3 separate regions of the Homo sapiens genome follow, and all the other regions are linked to region 2. Evidence: promoter capture Hi-C in human tissues and cell types (Jung and others, 2019). All regions are on one chromosome and are shown on one strand. Each heading gives the region's core, a stretch centred on a gene start or on the middle of the fragment in contact. The rest is flanking DNA. Distances are from core to core; before and after follow the strand shown. Region 1 overlaps AGBL1 (AGBL carboxypeptidase 1). Region 2 holds the start of NTRK3 (neurotrophic receptor tyrosine kinase 3). Region 3 overlaps AGBL1 (AGBL carboxypeptidase 1).

Region 1 (3,045 bases), core at 245-2,744, 1.4 Mb after region 2:
ACAGGCAGTTTAATTCATACCCGTTGTTTCTATTCTATTTTTTTCCAATTTTGAGATTGCTTTTTATTTTTTCAACATGTTGCATGTCACAATTCCATTAATTTCTGTCACCCCACCAATATCTACTAGTGGTTCACAGGCCTTACTTTTTAGTAGTTTTGTTGGACATAAGCCCAGATATAAACCAGACAGTGCGAAGTCACAGAATGAAGATTTTCTCTTTAATGAATTCCCAGGGTGAGTGGAAATCAGTTTAATGTCGTTCTAGATAGTCATATTTCGTTACAACATCCTCTTCACGAATGCTTTACACGCCTATGTTTTTAAAGCATTAATTTCTAGTTTTAAACCACTAGATTCGAAAGTACTTAGAATTATGTGATAGTTGAATGTGTCCCTTGTGCAACACCCTTGTGGGGAAGTGGACATTTCTTCCATGATTTCTAGTCACTAAACCTGAAAGAATTCCCTTAGCTTGGTGCTAAAAGTCATAAAGGATTTTCTAATTGCTATATAAACAAGACTTCTCATCTAGAAAGACCCAAGAGGTTACAGTCTTGTGTGGCTTGGTTAGCTATATGCAAGCTTTGTGCTATACAGTTAGTGCCACATATGAATAGTCCTCTGGCGACCTCACAGGGTTTGAAGCTTTTCTTGTGACCCATTAAACCAAATCATCTTCACTCTACGTCCATGGCTGTTCCTTTGCTTCTTGCCTATTTTTTCATGTTTTTTTTCATGTACGTTTCATGTGTCTTCAACTCTACCTGATGACCGATGTTCAACTTCATCTGATGTTACATCCTGACCTCTCACAGACCGGATTAGCCACATTGATAATTCCTTATTTTGAAAAACTGTAAAATATACACAATCTGACATCTCTTGGATCATGGCCCCAATATATGATCTGGATTCAGGCATTTATGAAACACCAAAATAAGGGCTCACCTCTCTGTAACGATTGCTATTTCCTTTATTCCCTATTATAAAATAATCTGGGTTCATTGGGATATCTGTATATTGGACGGCCATGGATAAACTTAGAAATTTGCATTTAAGGAGACAAATTAGTACCTCAGATCTTTAAAGTCAATCCTATCCATTTCCTCAGCTTTAAGTTACAGCTGCTAATTGATTTCCCTCTGCTTTCATACCAACATATATCCTACTTCTTTTAAATGTCTATTTATTTTTGCACAGTGCCATGAACAATAAAATTGAGCCTAAAATATCTAGCACTATAAGCCCCACCTAGTCCGGGTGCATTTTGCCATTTTATTGTTCTCCCCGCCTCACAGGTTCACTCACATGACATGTTTCTATTTCAAGTATAACACAATGAGTCTTCACCAAAGCATCAAAGCCCATTACTGAAAACAAAATTAAACACGTCCAGTGTAATTTAATGCTTAATTTTTTAAAAAAACTGTTGTTTTCACTCCTGCCACATACAGAATCCCTCATCCTCGGGGCAAGCAGTAAGTGGAAACATGTACCACAAAACGCAGAAAGTTATTCTCTCCTACCTAGTAGGTGAGTTGATTTGTAAAATGTAAAGTTAGCATAATGTCAACTCTTGGCAAAAGGAAAATTGAAGTACCAGCACATCAAGTGTGGTTTTGAGGGAAGTGTTATGCTGTGACCAACGTGGGTAAAGAAAAAAAATGAGGGCTGAGTAAACCTTCAATGAGTTCTATAATTGTACCTACCATTTATGATTGTGAAATACAATTCCCCCACCCCCAAGAAAAGGATAAAGCTTAAGTCCTGACAGCATGAGATGCAAGTGTGTTTATGACATGACCCCTCTTCTTCCTCATTACTCACTCCACTCCCAAACTCCATGCCACAGCCACACTGATATGATAGATGTCTCCTAGGAGTGTCTCACCATCTCAACTCATGCCCTTGCAGACATTAGTTAATCAAATGGGACCTCTGTTCTGCATCTTGCCTAACTTCAATCCATTCTTGCAAATGCTCTACTGATACTCTCTTCTCTGGGAAGCTTTTCTGACTTCTACAGTCTCTGTCAGATGGGCAAATAGTGGACTAAGCATAGTTCTATTTAACAAATGCTTGAGATGGAGTCTTGCTCTGTCCTCAGCTCACTGCAACCTCTGCCTCCCAGGTTCAAGCAATTCTCCTGCCTCAGCCCTGAGTAGCTGGGACTACAGGCATGTACCACCATGCCTAGCTAATTTTTGTGTTTTTAGTAGAGACGGGGTTTTACCATGTTGGCCAGGCTGGTCTTGAACTTCTGACCTCAAGTGATCTGCCTTCCTCAGCCCTCCAAAATGCTGGGATTACAGGCTTGAGCCACCACACCCGGCCAGAGGTAGTATTCTATTTATTGTTGATTTGCCAGCATCTAGAAAAATGCCTCCTTTGGGAAAGAGTAGGTGCTCAATAATTGTTTTCTGAAAGACTTATGCAAGAAGTAGATGACTGTTGTATTAACCATCATTCCCCCAACCTGGTTTTGTCACAGAAACAAGATCACAGTTTGCATACCTCCTTTGAGGGTGTGATCAATGCCATAGCGACATGAAGTAAATATGGCTCAGGCCATCAATGGAACTGAAGTCCAACCAACAATTCAAGAATAGTACCTGAGGAAATGGTATATAGGCAATGATAATGGTCACTATTAAAATACCCATTGTCCTTCATTTGTCAAGATGACTTTTCTAATTCCTTCAATGGAATGTTTATTTTGAGTCATAATCCAGTTATGAGAAGAAAAATGATCTTATTTTTATATTCAGAGTTATGATGAAAGGAAATTGTGGTTTGAGAATTTAGAAGGGAGCCAAAAAGAATGGCAGAGTAGATGACAAAGATGTTTCTTACAGTGCAACTTGGGGGGAAGGGAAAGATGGCTGAGGCAAGGTCATCTGGATGTTAGAATGATAATGAAAATGATAATGATAACAGCTAAAAGATACCAAGCACTTGGTTATATGCCAGACCTAGAACTAAACACTTCATATGCATTAACTCATTTAATCTTCTCATAAACCTGTGAAGGATTGAAGCACA
Region 2 (3,192 bases), core at 383-2,882:
GGAAGTCGGGAAAACTGCCTTGTATAGGCATGTTCTTTTCTTCCATTTTTTTCGTCCAAGTTTTTACTCCAAGCGACAGTGCCACCCGAAGGCGACCGGCCTGTTTGTGGTTGCGCCTGGGGCAGGCGGTGACACCGGCATACCCCTTCCCCCATCTTGCCTGCAAGTTGCATGACCTGCATCGGAATCCACAGGGGGGCGGGGGAGACTCCTTTCAGATACTGGATGCAGTTGAATTGAATTCAATGTATTTTGCTTCCTCGCCTGCCCTCCTCCAAGCTCGGGAAGGAGAACCCTGCTTTCTTCTGCGTGTGAATGCTGTAGTGTGTCTGCCTGCTCGGACTCCCCTAACCCTTTCTTCTCCTTTCCCACAGCGAATGCTCGTTTTTTTTTTTTTCAGCAAACAGCTCACACTTGGCATCTTTATGTTTTATTAAGAAAAAAATCCCTACCAGCGCAAAAGCGGGGCCCCCCCCACACACACTTCTTTCCCGGATGAGATCTGAGCTCTCGTCGAAAGCTGCACCTGCTTTGCGTCCCTACCAGGAAGGGGTGCTTGTGTGGGAGGGAAGGAGGAGGTTCTGCGCCCCCGAATCCGGAGAAAGCAGCCCGCCCGCCCCCTCACCCGGCAGCCAGCTCAGCTCACCCGAGAGCTGAGCCCGAGAAGCCGGCCTCTGACGGTGCTGGCGTGGCGCTTGCCAAAATATGCCCCTTGCATCTCAATTTCCCCCGGCCATTTCTCTTGCACGCACAGCTCGCCCGGGGCCACCTCGGCTCTCCAGCGCAGCCCTTTCGACCCCTGTTTCTTCCTTCCCCGATCCATGCCTGCTCAAGGCCGAATGCAAAACCCACCTCCAAGAAAGCGCAGCGGGCACGGGGGGCACCTAGCGTGCCATGTCCCGCAGTCCCCTCCCAGCCAAGACCAGAGCCCCAGACTCTAGATTACGGAAATGAGTGTCATTCAGACCAAGGACTGCGCGTCTGCGGTCCCGGTCCCCGGCTCTGGGTGCTTCTCTGGGGTGTCTGTGCGCTCCGGCACCCCCCGTCGCCGTCCGTGAGCCTGCGCCCCCCACCCACCCAGGCTTGGGAGCGCCCCCCACCCAAGGCTTGGGAGCACTCCCCAATCACCTCCGCCACGTTCATTTCACTTCCTACCGCGGTCCGGATTGCAGCAAAACCGGGTAGCGCGAGGGCCAAAAAGTGGAAAGGAGAGCGCCTTTCCGTGTCGTGCAGCCAGCTCGCCAACTCTCCCTCCCCAGCCCCGACCCTCGCAATCTCAAATGCAACTTTTTCCCTTCGGTCTCGGTTTCCCCCGGGCTGCGGCTAGCGGGCGCCGCGCTGCGAGGCGTGGAGCGGGCGGGCTGCCGCGAGGCTGCGGGTGGCGGTGCCGGCTACAGCCGCGAGCCGGCGAGTGGGTGGGTGGGTGGGTGGGGAGGAGGGAGAGGACAGGCGGGGAGAGAGACGGGTGTGGGGAGGGGAGGGAGGGGGAGATTCCGCTCTCCTGCCGCTCCCAGCCCGGGCGGGGGGCGGGGGGAGGAGGCCGCGACGAGGGAGGGGAGGAGGGAGGGAGGAAGGGAGGGAGGGAGCCGAGGAAGACGCTCCGATAACCCGTGCGTTTCGTAAGGCTCGGAGCACTTGTACATTTCTGCAGCCGCGCGGCGAGCCATTCGCGGCGGCTGCTGCAGCTCCTACTGCATCTTCCTTCTCTTCCTTTCCTCGGGCTCCGGGTGTGTGTATGTGTGAGAGTGAGTGTGTGTGTTTTGCAGGTGCGTGGTGTGTCCGTTTTAATTCTGCCCAGTAGGTGGGACTTGGTGACTTTAGCACCATTTTTTCCTTTTCCTTTTTTTTTTTTGCCTCCCCACCGTCTGTTGCAACCCTGCAAAGTCTCGGAGTCGGAGAGCGCGCCTCGCTTCCAGAGCCCCCGGACCCGGCGAGTCAGCGATCGCCGAGCCGGCCACCATGCCCGGCAGACCGCGCCACTAGGCGCTCCTCGCGGCTCCCACCCGGCGGCGGCGGCGGCGGCGGCGGCGTCCGCGATGGTTTCAGACGCTGAAGGATTTTGCATCTGATCGCTCGGCGTTTCAAAGGCAGAGGCCCCCCCTCCCCCTTCCCCCCTCCCTCGCCGTCTTTGTTTCCTTCCCCCCCTGCTCTCCCCACTCCCCCCACCCCACCCCCCTCTCCTCTCCTCCTCCTCTTTTTTAGAAGCAGCGATCGGAGATGGATGTCTCTCTTTGCCCAGCCAAGTGTAGTTTCTGGCGGATTTTCTTGCTGGGAAGCGTCTGGCTGGACTATGTGGGCTCCGTGCTGGCTTGCCCTGCAAATTGTGTCTGCAGCAAGACTGAGATCAATTGCCGGCGGCCGGACGATGGGAACCTCTTCCCCCTCCTGGAAGGGCAGGATTCAGGGAACAGCAATGGGAACGCCAGTATCAACATCACGGACATCTCAAGGAATATCACTTCCATGTAAGTCAGGCGGCCGCTCCCCAGCCTGCCTCCCCCGCGCTCTGCGTCTCCCTCCTGCCCACCCGCGGCCGGGAGCCGGCCCTCCGCCCGCCCCAGCTCGCCGCTGCCCGCCGCCCGCTGGGCGCGCGTCAGGCTCGCTCTGGCTCGGGAGATGCTCTCCGGCTGCGCATTCCAGGTGACTCCGGCCCTGGCGAGGCGCGATCCGGCTATGCGTGTGTGTGCCTCTCCCCGGAGAGGACCCCGGCCGCCGAGGGCACGCGGGGCCCAGCTACCGCCCGCCTCCCAACCAGTTGCTGGCTCGTTTCGATGGTGCAAATTGTTTTTTTTTGCTCCCCACTAAATAGCAACAGTTTGGCCACGCTCAAGTGGAATAAAGTAGACGAGGTTCGATTCTTTGGCAGAGGCGGCAGCGGCGGTGGCAGCGGCGGCAGCGCTTAGCCGGCAGGGAAGGTGACAGATAGGGACTGCTCGCGATCCAGCCGAGGTGTTTAACTATTTCCATTTGGAAACAGCAAAACATGCTGACAAGTAAACAAGTTGCGAGCTGGCTGCTCGCGGGGAGACTTTGGACGTGTGGAGGCCGTCATGGACGCCTACCTCTTCCCTTCCCCTCCTGCAGCCCGCCCTCTCCAGCCCCATTTTGGGCATTTCCGAGACACCCCTTTGCCACCCTCATCTGCATCTGGGCGCCTACAGATCCCTTCCCAGTTTGGGCTTTGATAACTGC
Region 3 (3,444 bases), core at 854-3,353, 1.4 Mb after region 2:
TAAGTTCTTTAATTTCTTTAAAGATCAATTTCTTCATCTGTAGAATTGGAATAATATTCTCTACTTCCTAAGATTGCTGTGAGGATCTAGCACTAAAGCAATAATAGCTAATTTTATTTATTTCTGATGACTAGAAATCGAGATATAAAAAATAAGGTAATTAGCTCTCTACTGCTTGCTTAATTGCTAATGCTTATTTGTGGATCTTGTATGAGCATTAGACGTGTGAAACTATTTTGATTGTTTTGGTCAAAGGTCTAAATCAGTGCTTTTAATTGGCATTCAACTAGCAAATAACAGTGATTTGGCATACCAAGGAGAAATAAATCTTTGTTTTCTCCTAAACTACTTATTCTAAAACTTGACTGGTCATCTGGGGAGTTGTCAGAATTCTGATGCCTTGGCCCCACCCCAGATATTGTGATTTAATTGGCATGGGGTGTGGCCTGGGCTTTGAGATTTTTTTTGGAACTTTCCCATGTGATTCTAATTGCAGCAGAGTTGAAGAACAAAAACTCATTGGCTTTCAACTCTGACCACAAATGATTCACCTGGGAAGCTTTAAAAACAACGAAGCCTGAGCCTCGTGCCCAGAGATTCTGATTTAAATGGTCCAGGGTGAAGTCTGTGCACTTTAAAAGTTCCCCAGTTGATTCTAATATGCAACCAGGCCTGAGAGCCACTGCTTCAAACCTTTGCAATAGGCAAGATGCCTTCTAGGTAGGAGATAAGGGATCTACTCCATAGCAGCCTGCCTCATTCCTCTTCCCTGCTTCCAGGAAAGAGGTTCACAGGATGGCTTGTTGAGCCCTCCATTACATGTTGACCTGGGGTAACCAGCCATAGGCCTGCTCAGTGAAAAAAGCCCTGGGGCATTTAGAACCCCTCAAGGAATGTAGGAAGGATATTTTTAAATGAAGATAATGTACCTTGCAAAAAGAGGCATTGGGAGATCAGCTTCAGTGTTAAGTCACATAATCTATATAGTGTCTGGGGGCTTGCAGGTGGATCAGAATAGAGTTTCCAGATAGCAGGGGATGTCGTAAAGTGATTTAGGAGACTCTCAGGAAATGGACTGATATGGTTTGGCTCTGTGTCCCCACCCAAATATAATCTCCAATTGTAATCCACATGTGTCGAAGGAGGGACATGTACTCTCAGTGTGTGGAGAGAGGGAGGTGTTTGGATCGTGGGAGCAGTTTCCCCCATGCTGTTCTCACAATAGTGAGTGAGTTCTCACAGGACCTGATGGTTTTATAAGTGTCTGGCATCTTCTCTGCTTGCACTTCTTTCTCTCCTGCCCCTTGTGAAGAAGGTGCCTGCTTCCCCTTCCACCATGATTGTAAGTTTCCTGAGGCCTCTCCAGCCATGCGGAACTGTGAGCCAATTAAACCTCTTTCCTTTATAAATTACTCAGTGTCGGGTAGTATATTTATAGCAGTGTGAATACGGATGAATACATGGACCATCCATTCATCCATCCAACAGTGTTTATGTAGTAGTTCCCCTGCAGTAGCTGCCATGACAATGGTGAGCAAAACAGATGCAGTCGTCTTTTTACAACTAAACAATAAAAAATAAAAAATAAAAACCTGCCACTGCTGCAGGAAAACCATTCACCACAATGAGTCTGAACTTCCCACTACCTCCCTCTTTCCATATGAAATTCAAATCTCTGTTGGCCATTCCAGCAACTCGTGGAGAATATCTCCTGCATCCTTCATGTGTGCACACTTCTCAGGGACCCCACTGCTCACCATCCCCATGCCTTCCCCATCCAGGTTCAAGTTAATGCCCTGCCTTTCTTTCCTGCTACTGCCCATGCCTAGGCCCAGATTCTTTATTTATCAAGCTAGTTACCACTCTAGAGACTCTGAGGATGGAAGAATTTGCGGGTTTCATGAGTCAGATAGAACTAATCTTTGCAGATTTTATTGGAAAAACTTGCTCTTATAATAAAGATGTTTTCAGGAAATTCTGGGGATACAGAAAGTTGTGCCCACTGAATGGGTTTGATATATATCTTACCATTTCAAACAGACCTCCTGTTCTCAATGCCCAGGGAAGAGCAATGATGCTGTGTTCTTGACCAGGTGATGGACCTTTCTGTCCTCACTGTTTGCCCCCATCAAAACTGTTTAAAGCCCCCTCCTACAGGGTTAGGTGGGCAGAGTGAGCCAGTTCTAGTAGACTTGGTTTTGAGCTAGAATCAGTTCCTGCCCCAAATCCTAGAGATTTATAGTCTCAGGAATCAGAGAACCCATAGGTCCAGCTTTCAATTTTCTCCCAGGGCTTTATATGCAGCACTCCTTTCTTCCACTTCTTGCCCTCTTTCCCAAAATAGTAGATGAGGGTGACGCTATCAGGAAAGCACTTAGAAGGGATAAGAGCAAGTGATCTTTCCATTGCTGTGATTGGTGACATCACTCACCCTTAATCAGAAGGTCTAAAGCAACTTATAAATCCAGTCCCTTCAATAATTGACCAAAAAGCCTCTCCAAATGCATTATAGAAGTGATGGCAGAAAATTATTATTGATTTCCTATACTCCAGTTTCTTTATCAATAAAATGGGCATGGCAATAATTAATAAAATATTATGCTTCACACAGTATCTAAGTAATATAAATATTACCTATTACTATCAATGTTGACCAGAAGGAAACTATCTTTTCATTTTGTTTTGTTTTGTTTTTTAGCTTTTGGAATGATTACATGATATGCAGCATAGTAAGTAAATACTTGCTATATGACAAGTATTTTTTTCAGCATTTCTATTATCTCATTTAAGCCATACAACAATATATCATACAGGTATTCTTATCACTCCCATTTTATAGTTAAAGGAAATGGTCAAGGTTAATTTAGGTAACCCTATCAATAATGATTCTCTGTGTTAATAAGAATGTTTGGCAGAGCCCAGAGGAAATGAGGGTGGGAGGAAGATGGGTTTTGATGCAGAAAGAATTATCTGGAACAGGAGCAAACAAAACAAAGACAGGCAATGTGGGCGCAGTGGGGCACCCATGGTGTGAGGACGATTGGGTACTTGGTTCTTTGGCAAAGATCTGTTTATAAAATGGCATGTAGTCGGTGCTATAGGAAATGTGTGAAAAACAGGAAGGGGGCAGGAGCAGAGATAAGACTGGGAAGTCAAATAAAGCAATGCATATTGGTAATTTCTCCAACATTTAATCCATGCCATGTACAGACACTTTTTAATAAAATAATGGATGAAGAAATGAATAAGTAATGTCCATAGCCTAAGGCAGCAAGAATGTGACATCTTGCTACTTATCAAGCCTTGAAAATGACTGTCCCTTTTGAGCCCAGTTATCAGTACATTTCAGCTCCACTAAATAGGTGTTTTACACATGGGAAACAGCTGAACAGAGTTCTCTTATCATTTCCATTGAATGCGATTGGGTTGAGGGAGATTGAGCAA

Evidence for each region. The method cuts DNA at HindIII sites, captures the fragments that hold promoters and counts their contacts. A contact is called where the count stands out against the background at its distance.
Region 1: a contact is called between a fragment that was not itself captured here and the fragment with the promoter of NTRK3 in region 2, in 1 of the 25 tissues and cell types used here (dorsolateral prefrontal cortex).
Region 3: a contact is called between a fragment that was not itself captured here and the fragment with the promoter of NTRK3 in region 2, in 1 of the 25 tissues and cell types used here (dorsolateral prefrontal cortex).

The regions. Positions count from the first base shown.
Region 1 is chr15:86,865,864-86,868,908 of GRCh38, reverse strand. All of the region lies in intron 22 of AGBL1 (AGBL carboxypeptidase 1), which reads right to left. Among named protein-coding and RNA genes, the nearest start is that of AGBL1-AS1, 550 kb to the right of the region's middle. The HindIII fragment of the contact is 3,305 bases long and covers 1-3,045 here.
Region 2 is chr15:88,255,179-88,258,370 of GRCh38, reverse strand. It overlaps NTRK3 (neurotrophic receptor tyrosine kinase 3), which reads left to right and starts at 1,632. Exons shown (of 20, transcript NM_001012338.3): 1 at 1,632-1,727; 2 at 1,885-2,087; 3 at 2,203-2,465. The coding sequence starts at 2,218. All of the region lies in intron 1 of NTRK3-AS1 (NTRK3 antisense RNA 1), which reads right to left. RefSeq lists enhancers at 1-73, 2,414-2,950, 2,951-3,192. The HindIII fragment of the contact is 6,423 bases long and covers 1-3,192 here.
Region 3 is chr15:86,850,071-86,853,514 of GRCh38, reverse strand. The region is part of intron 22 of AGBL1 (AGBL carboxypeptidase 1); the gene reads right to left. Among named protein-coding and RNA genes, the nearest start is that of AGBL1-AS1, 530 kb to the right of the region's middle. The HindIII fragment of the contact is 6,895 bases long and covers 1-3,444 here.